Regions from separate parts of the Homo sapiens genome. Here region 1 is linked to region 2. The links are contacts of gene promoters, found by promoter capture Hi-C in human tissues and cell types (Jung and others, 2019). All regions are on one chromosome and are shown on one strand. Each heading gives the region's core, a stretch centred on a gene start or on the middle of the fragment in contact. The rest is flanking DNA. Distances are from core to core; before and after follow the strand shown.

Evidence for each region. Contacts are between HindIII fragments. The study calls those that stand out against the background at their distance.
Region 1: a contact is called between a fragment that was not itself captured here and the fragment with the promoter of ZBTB8A in region 2, in 1 of the 25 tissues and cell types used here (dorsolateral prefrontal cortex).

Annotation. Positions count from the first base shown.
Region 1 is chr1:32,802,523-32,806,741 of GRCh38, forward strand. It overlaps YARS1 (tyrosyl-tRNA synthetase 1), which reads right to left. Exons shown (of 13, transcript NM_003680.4): 4 at 3,960-4,089. Among named protein-coding and RNA genes, the nearest start is that of YARS1, 13 kb to the right of the region's middle. RefSeq lists enhancers at 1,496-2,170, 2,171-2,844. The HindIII fragment of the contact is 4,745 bases long and covers 1-4,219 here.
Region 2 is chr1:32,537,147-32,540,992 of GRCh38, forward strand. It overlaps ZBTB8A (zinc finger and BTB domain containing 8A), which reads left to right and starts at 2,281. Exons shown (of 5, transcript NM_001040441.3): 1 at 2,281-2,426. RefSeq lists a silencer at 2,644-3,013. The HindIII fragment of the contact is 4,148 bases long and covers 1-3,791 here.

The sequences.
Region 1 (4,219 bases), core at 977-3,476, 270 kb after region 2:
TGAAAGTTGAAATCACTCCTTGATCCACGGGCTATAGAATGGATGTTGTGTTAGCAGGCATGAAAATAACATTCAACTCCTGAACATCTCAAGCTCTACAGAAGCTCTCCATCAGAGCTCTTAGGTGATCAGGTGCACTGTCAATGAGCAGTAATGTTTTGAAAAGAATCTTTCTTTTTGAGGAGTAGGTCTCAAAAGTGGGCTTAAAATGCTCAGTAAATCATACTGTTAACAGACGTGCTACTATCCAGGCTTTGTTGTTCCATTTATAGAGCTCAGGCAGAGTAGACTTAGCATAATTCTTTTTTGAGATGGAGTCTCACTCTGTTACCCAGGCTGGAGTGCAGTGGTGTGATCTCACCTCACTGCAATCTCTGCCTCCTGGGTATAAGTGATTCTCCTGCCTCAGCCTTCCGAGTAGCTGGGGTTACAGATGCGCGCCACAACGCCTGGCTATTTTTTTTTTTTTTTTTTTTTTGAGACAGAGTCTTGCATTGTTGCCCGGGCTGGAGTGCAATGGTGCGATCTCGGCTTACTGCAATCTCCACCTCCCGGGTTCAAGCGACTGTCCTGCCTCAGCCTCCTGAGTAGCTGGGACTACAGTTGCGCACCACCATGCCCGGCTAATTAATATTTTTAGTAGAGACGGGGTTTTACTATGATGGCCAGGCTGGTCTCGAACTCCTGACCTCGTGATCTGCCTGCCTCGGCCTCCCAAAGTGCTGAGTTACAGGTGTGAGCCATCATGCCTGGCCTAATTCTTCTTTTTTTTTTTTTTTTTGTAGTTTTAGTAGAGACCGGGTTTCACCATGTTGGTCAGGCTGGTCTCGAACTCCTGGCCTCAAGTGATTTGCTCACCTCGGCATCCCAAAGTGCTGGGATTACAGGCATGAGCCACCATGCCCGGCCTATTTAGCATAATTCTTAAAGGCACTAGGATTTTTGGAATGTAAATGAGCATTGGCTTCAACTTCAAGTCACCAGCTGCATTAGCTCCTAACAAGAGAGTCAGCCTGTCCTTTGAAGATTTGAAGCCAGGAATCAACTTCTCTCTAGCTACGAAAGTCCGAGATGGCATCTTCTTCCGAAAAAAGGCTATTTCATCTACCTTGAAAATCCATTGTTGAGTGTAGCCACCTTCATCAATGATCTTAGCTAGATCTTCTGGGTAACTTGCTGCAACTTCTACATCAGGGCTTGCTGCTTCACCTTGCACTTTTTTTTTTTAATAGTATTTATTGATCATTCTTGGGTGTTTCTCGGAGAGGGGGATTTGGCAGGGTCATAGGACAATAGTGGAGGGAAGGTCAGCAGATAAACATGTGAACAAGGGTCTCTGGTTTTCCTAGGCAGAGGACCCTGCGGCCTTCCGCAGTGTTTGTGTCCCTGGGTACTTGAGATTAGGGAGTGGTGATGACTCTTAACGAGCATGCTGCCTTCAAGCATCTGTTTAACAAAGCACATCTTGCACCGCCCTTTATCCATTTAACCCTGAGTGGACACAGCACATGTTTCAGAGAGCACGGGGTTGGGGGTAAGGTTATAGATTAACAGCATCCCAAGGCAGAAGAATTTTTCTTAGTACAGAACAAAATGGAGTCTCCCATGTCTACCTCTTTCCACACAGACACAGTAACAATCTGATCTCTCTTTCTTTTCCCCACATTTCCCCCTTTTCTATTCGACAAAACCGCCATCGTCATCATGGCCCGTTCTCAACGAGCTGTTGGGTACTCCTCCCAGACGGGGTGGCCGCCGGGCAGAGGGGCTCCTCACTTCCCAGACGGGGCGGCCGGTCAGAGGCACCCCCAACCTCCCTCCCGGACGGGGTGGCTGGCCGGGCGGGGGTTGCCCCCCACCTCCCTCCTGGACAGGGCGGCTGGCCGGGCGGCGGCTGCCCCCCACCTCCCGGACGGGGCGGCTGCCGGGCGGAGACGCTCCTCACTTCCCAGACGGGGCGGCTGCCAGGCGGAGGGGCTCCTCACTTCTCAGACGGGGCGGCTGGGCAAAGACGCTCCTCACCTCCCAGACGGGGTGGCGGTCGGGCAGAGACACTCCTCAGTTCCCAGACCGGGTCGCGGCCGGACAGAGGCGCTCCTCACATCCCAGACGGGGCGGCGGGGCAGAGGTGCTCCCCACATCTGAGACGATGGGCAGCCGGGCAGAGACGCTCCTCACTTCCCAGACGTGATGGCGGCCGGGAAGATGCGCTCCTCACTTCCAAGACTGGGCGGCCGGGCAGAGGGGCTCCTCACATCCCAGACGATGGGCGGCCAGGCAGAGACGCTCCTCACTTCCCAGATGGGGTGGCAGCCAGGCAGAGGCTGCAATCTCGGCACTTTGGGAGGCCAAGGCAGGCGGCTGGGAGGTGGAGGTTGTAGCGAGCTGAGATCACGCCACTGCACTCCAGCCTGGGCAACATTGAGCACTGAGTGAGCGAGACTCCGTCTGCAATCCCGGCACCTCGGGACGCCGAGGCGGGTAGATCACTCGCGGTCAGGAGCTGGAGACCAGCCCGGCCAACACAGCGAAACCCCGTCTCCACCAAAAAATACAAATTGCAGGCGTGGCGGCACGCGCCTGCAATCCCAGGCACTCGGCAGGCTGAGGCAGGAGAATCAGGCAGGGAGGTTGCAGTGAGCCAAGATGGCGGCAGTACAGTCCAGCCTCGGCTCGGCATCAGAGGGAGACGGTGGAAAGGGGAGAGGGGGAGAGGGGGAGAGGGGGAGAGGGGGAGAGGGGGAGAGGGAGAGAGGGAGAGAGGGAGAGAGGGAGAGCCACCTTGCACTTTTATGTTATGGAGATGGCTTTTTTCCCTTTAAATGTCATGAACCAATCTCTCAGCCTTCATAAAACTGAAGACAGGGCCTTTCTCTAGAGTAGGCTTTAGATTAAGGTAACATTGTGGCTGGTTTCATCTTCTATCCAGAGCACTACAATCTTCTCTATATCAGCATAAGTGAAACTTATGTCTGTTTCTATTTTTCAGGTGTTCACTGGAGTAGCACTTTGAATTTCCTTCAAGAACTTTCCCTATGGATTCACAACCTGGCTATTTGGTGCAAGAGGCCGAGCTTTCCGCCTGCCTCCGCTTTTGACATTCCTTCTTCACTAAGCTTAATCATTTCTAGGTGTAGATTTAAAGTGACAGATGTGCGGCCGGGCACGGTAGCTCACGTCTATAATCCCAGCACTGTGGGAGGCCAAGGTGGGTGGATCATGAGGTCAAGAGTTCAAGACCAGCCTGGCCAAGATGGTGAAACCCCATCTCTACTAAAAATACAAAAAAAATCAGCCGGGCATGGTGGCAGGCGCCTGTAATCCCAGCTACTCGGGAGGCTGAGGCAGAGAATTGCTTGAACCCGGGAGGCGGAGGTTGCAGTGAGCCGAGATTTCGCCACTGCACTCCAGCCTGGGCGACACAGCGAGATTCCGTCTCAAAAATAAATAAATAAATAAAGTGAGCTATGTGTGACTCTCCCTTTCAACACTTAGAGGCCATTGTAGGGTTATTAATTAGCCTAATTTCAATATTGTTGTGTTTTAGGAAATGAGGAGGCCAGGAGAGTGAGGAAATGGCTGGATGGTAGAGTAGTCAGAACACACACAATACTTATTAAGTTCGTTGTCTTATACGGGCACAGTTTGTGGTGCCCCAAAACAATTACAATATTTAACATCAAAGGTAACAGATCGCATATCACCATGCAGATATGATAATAATGAAAAAGCTTGAAATACTGTGAGAATTACCAAAATGTAGCACAGAGACACGAAGTGAGCACATGCTGTTGGAAAAATGGTGCTGGTGGACTTGCTGTACACAGGGTTGCCACACACCTTCAATTTGTAAAAAACACAATATCTGCGTAGTGCAGTAAAGCAAAGTGCAATAAGATATGCCTGTCATCAAACCAGAGCAGAAAAGGTCATCGGGCCACTCCATCCCCCTTAAGTACCTGCAGTCCGGGGTATAAGAGGCCACTCAGCAAAGGGTGCTCCACCTGCTTTACCACCTCAGCTCCAGCCTTCTTGGAATCGTGCTGTGTGACCACGGAGGAGAGTCTGTACACATCTAGTGTGTACTCTCTGAAGAGGAAAGGAAGAGGGGACAGCTGTAAACCTGGGCCTAGGCCTCAGTTTCCTAGGAAATCTAAAGCACATTAATTTACTTCCCTAACCTTAGTGTAACCAGGGATCTCGGTTTTAAAAATATATT
Region 2 (3,846 bases), core at 1,031-3,530:
TCCTCAAGGAAGTCCTCCTTACACAAACCCTCTCCCTCATGAGACGGGTCCCCACTTCATCAATATTCTCATCACACGACATACCTTTCCTTCAGACTTATCCAATTTTCAAATTATACATTTATTTGATTACCATCTGTCTCCCCCACTAGACTGCAAATCCCATAAAAGCAGGGACTTGGTGAATTTTTTGCTCACCACTGCATTCCAAGAGCCTAGAGCAAAAACTTTACCCTTAGCAGGCACTGTTAAAATTGGAATGGGACCAGGTGCGGTAGCTCATGCCTGTAATCCCAGCACTTTGGGAGGCCAATGAGGCTGGATCACGAAGTCAGGAGTTCAAGACCAGCCTGGCAACCTGGTGAAACCCTGTCCCTACTAAAAATACAAAAATTAGCCAGGCGTGGTGGCGGGCACCTGTAATCCCAGCTACTCTGGAGGCTGAGGCAGAGAATTGCTTGAACCTGGGAGGCGGAGGTTGCAGTGAGCCGAGATTGCATCATTGCACTCCAGCCTGGGTGACAGAGCAAGACTCCGTCTCCAAAAAAAAAAAAAAAAAAAAAAAAAAAAAGGAATGGATTATCTTCCTCAAGATTTGAACTGAATAGGTGGAAACAGGGATGGGGGTTGGGTGGGGTGGGAGACAGAGTTTAAGAGACTAGCACTGGTTAATGGTGGAGCTCTAGCATACAGAAACGTGCTCCCAAAGCTAGGAGAATGAAGGTGAGGGACAAAACTCTCATTACCTCTTCCTTGCAACAAAGAGGTTATTTTTGTTTGTTGTTTTTGTTTTTGTTTTTGAAATGGAGTCTTGCTCCGTCACCCAGGCTGGAGTGCAGTGGCACGATCTTGGCTCACTGCAAACTCCACCTCCTGTGTTCAAGCCATTCTCCTGGTTCAGCTGCCCCAGTAGCTGGGATTACAGGCGCGCACCACCATGCCCAGCTAATTTTTGTATTTTAAGTAGAGATGGGGTTTCACCATGTTGGCCAGGCTGGTCTCAACCTCCTGACCTCGTGATCCGCCCACCTCGGCCTCCCAAAGTGCTGAGATTATAGGTGTGAGCCACCACACCCGGCCTCAACAAAGAGTTTATCACCAACCTGATGTGCTCTCTTGAGGAATATGTTTGTGGAACTCTTTTGCATGTTTTAATTAACTAAGGCTAAAATAAAACCTTTGGCTAAAACCATGTCCAGGTCTTTCTGGGGGAATTCTCAATGGGGGCGCTAGCAGAGTAATCTGAGTACATCCAACACACCAGACACCTAATGGTTTTCAAATATGTTTCTACTTACCTGTTCAGAAGGTGAGGAAATGCAACTAAATAGCAAAGCACCTCTGCAGTGACACAGAAGTGACATTGAGACAATTGTGAATATCTTGTATCCTCAAAATGCATAGCTAATTATTCCTGAAATCAAAGTTACAAACTGTCCAATATGAATGATTTTGAACAGGAGAGGAATCCATTAAAAGCTAAACGCAAGTTTTGATAATTTGAACCTTTTCCCTCCAGTTTTACTATAACACAGTACTTTTCAGTACCTGACCCCAGCATAAGGAACTAGAAAACTAATTTATAGAAGTAATGCTTCTACAGTAACAGTGAAAATCCATTGATTTACTATTTTAGCAAATGTATAACCTGATATCTGTACTCTAAATATTAGAGACGTAAATTTGTCAGAGGAAGCTTGGTGTACGATGAATGCTTGCATTGGAAAAGACGCAACTTGCTATTTTTACTAATTTTATATTTCTCTGGACTTAACTAAGAATTATGTTCTCTTATCTCAGCCTCTCTGGGTTTTCCTATTCAAATGAAATGCTTCTGACCTGTACAGGTTTAGAAAAGGTTATCCTCAACTAAAATAACTGCTTCAGTACAAGGGAAAATTCTGTGGAAATCTTTTGCATTTGACGTTGCTAAACTTAAGTACAATAATGTCACATGTACTTATACAGTAATTGTGGGCACGCCTAAGTCCCTCCCTCTTTCCTAAACCAAATCCCCAGATCCTAGAAATCCAGCCCTTCTGCCCTCCGGAGGCGCCTTTCCCAACGTAAAGTACAATTTTAAATTTCAGCTCCTGACTAAAATCATGATCCGCAGTCAACTGCTAGAGAATCTGGGCACCCCGGTGTCTCTGGAGCGTGCAGCGAGTGTGGGCAAGGGCAGGGGGAGTGGGCGAAGCTGCTGGTTGGTGCCTGAAATCTGTGCGTTGCCCCTTTAATTGTGTCCCCAGCCCTCGGGCGTTTCTGTCCAACGCCCACGTCAGCAAATACCTTTTGTTTCTCTCACGTTGGGGCTACTTGTTTTAGGGCGCAAAGGAACGGCCTCGAAAGGGGGTCCTTCCCCAGCCGAGAACCAGGAATCTTCCCTCGGCCCGCGCGCGCGACCGGCCGGTGCGCCGCGGCCCGCGGTAAGTGGCTGCACGCGGCGCCGGCGGAGGGCGGGCGGGCGTCGGGGCTGCCCGGGACCCGCCGCGAGCCTGGCCGCGGGCTCTGACGGCCCGGGCGGCGGCAGTGCTGGGATGCGGGCCCCGGGCGCGCCTCCCCCAGACGTCCCCGGGCCGGGAGCGCGGCGGGAGGCGCCCGGGAGGGGCTGCGGGACAATGGCCGCGCCGTCGCCGCCCGCGCCCGCCTCGCCGCCCGGCCCGGCCCGGGGAAAGGCGGGAAGGCGCGCGGAGCCTCCTGGAGGCGGCGGCGGGAAGGCGGCGGGGACGGCGCCGGGCGTGTCTGGAGCCGTCGGGCGCCGCGGACTCTGGAGGGGCTCGGGCTGCGCGGAGCAAAGACGGGCGGCCGCCGCGGGGGCGCGCGGGGAGGGCAGGGCAGGGCCGGGGCCGGAGTCTCTGCGGGCGCGGCCAGGGGCGCTGCCGGGGAACCTGGCTCCCAGGGCAGTAGCCCGAGTTTCTCGGTGCAGCCTCCATCCTTGGTTTTATGTCAAGATGCGACATCTGGGCTTAGAACCGAGGGCGAACTCACCGCGCCTAACCAATGTTGAGCTCCCAACTATTTGCTTCTGGACGGAACCTTACATGCTCATCTCTACCCATGCGGACCGCCTCTTTTGTGAGTTAGTCAGCGGCTTGTTCCCTTCCCCTTCAGATGCGCTTATGTATCCCCGATTGTTCCAATGGCCCTACTCCACATCATTCTAAGACGCGTTTGGAAGCGGTAGATTCACACACACCTGGTGGGCTTCTAACCACACACGTCAATATCACCTCTATGCTTGATAAACCTTTATAGTTGCACAACTTTAAATGGAGTGCTTTCACCTATATGAATTATTTCACTTAATTTCACATAAAACAACCACCTAGTCAGGCTGACGGTAATTCCACTTTGCAGATGAGGGAACACGTATGAAGCATGGCGTTTCACCTCTAGGCTAGGGTGACCATAGCCGCCCAGGGCCTCCTGTTCCCGCCCTGCCTTCCCTCCTAAGGCACCTCCAGAGGAGTCTTTAGAAGGGCCAGTCTTAACACAGCGCTTCCCTGCTCTAAAAACCTTAACTGATCTTTTTCAGGAAAGCCTCCAAAATCCTCAACAAGCTTCTGCTCCAGTCTTATCTCCTCCATGCCTCAGGTATGGATGCGTTTGTAGACTGGAGCAAGAGCCCCTCACTGATAAGCAGGGATCAGATGTCTTTATTCCTGGGAACCTCTCTGGCCACACAAGTGGCAACTGGGAAGTGAGAATCTGGCTTAGGGCCCTTGATCAAATGGGTGTCTGGGTGGATTGTGCTCTAAAATGTCAGCAGGAGGCATAATGAGTAGGGACTCCAGGAAGGAGGCCACACCACTAACCCTTATCTCCTAGCCCTGAAATCACCAGCTT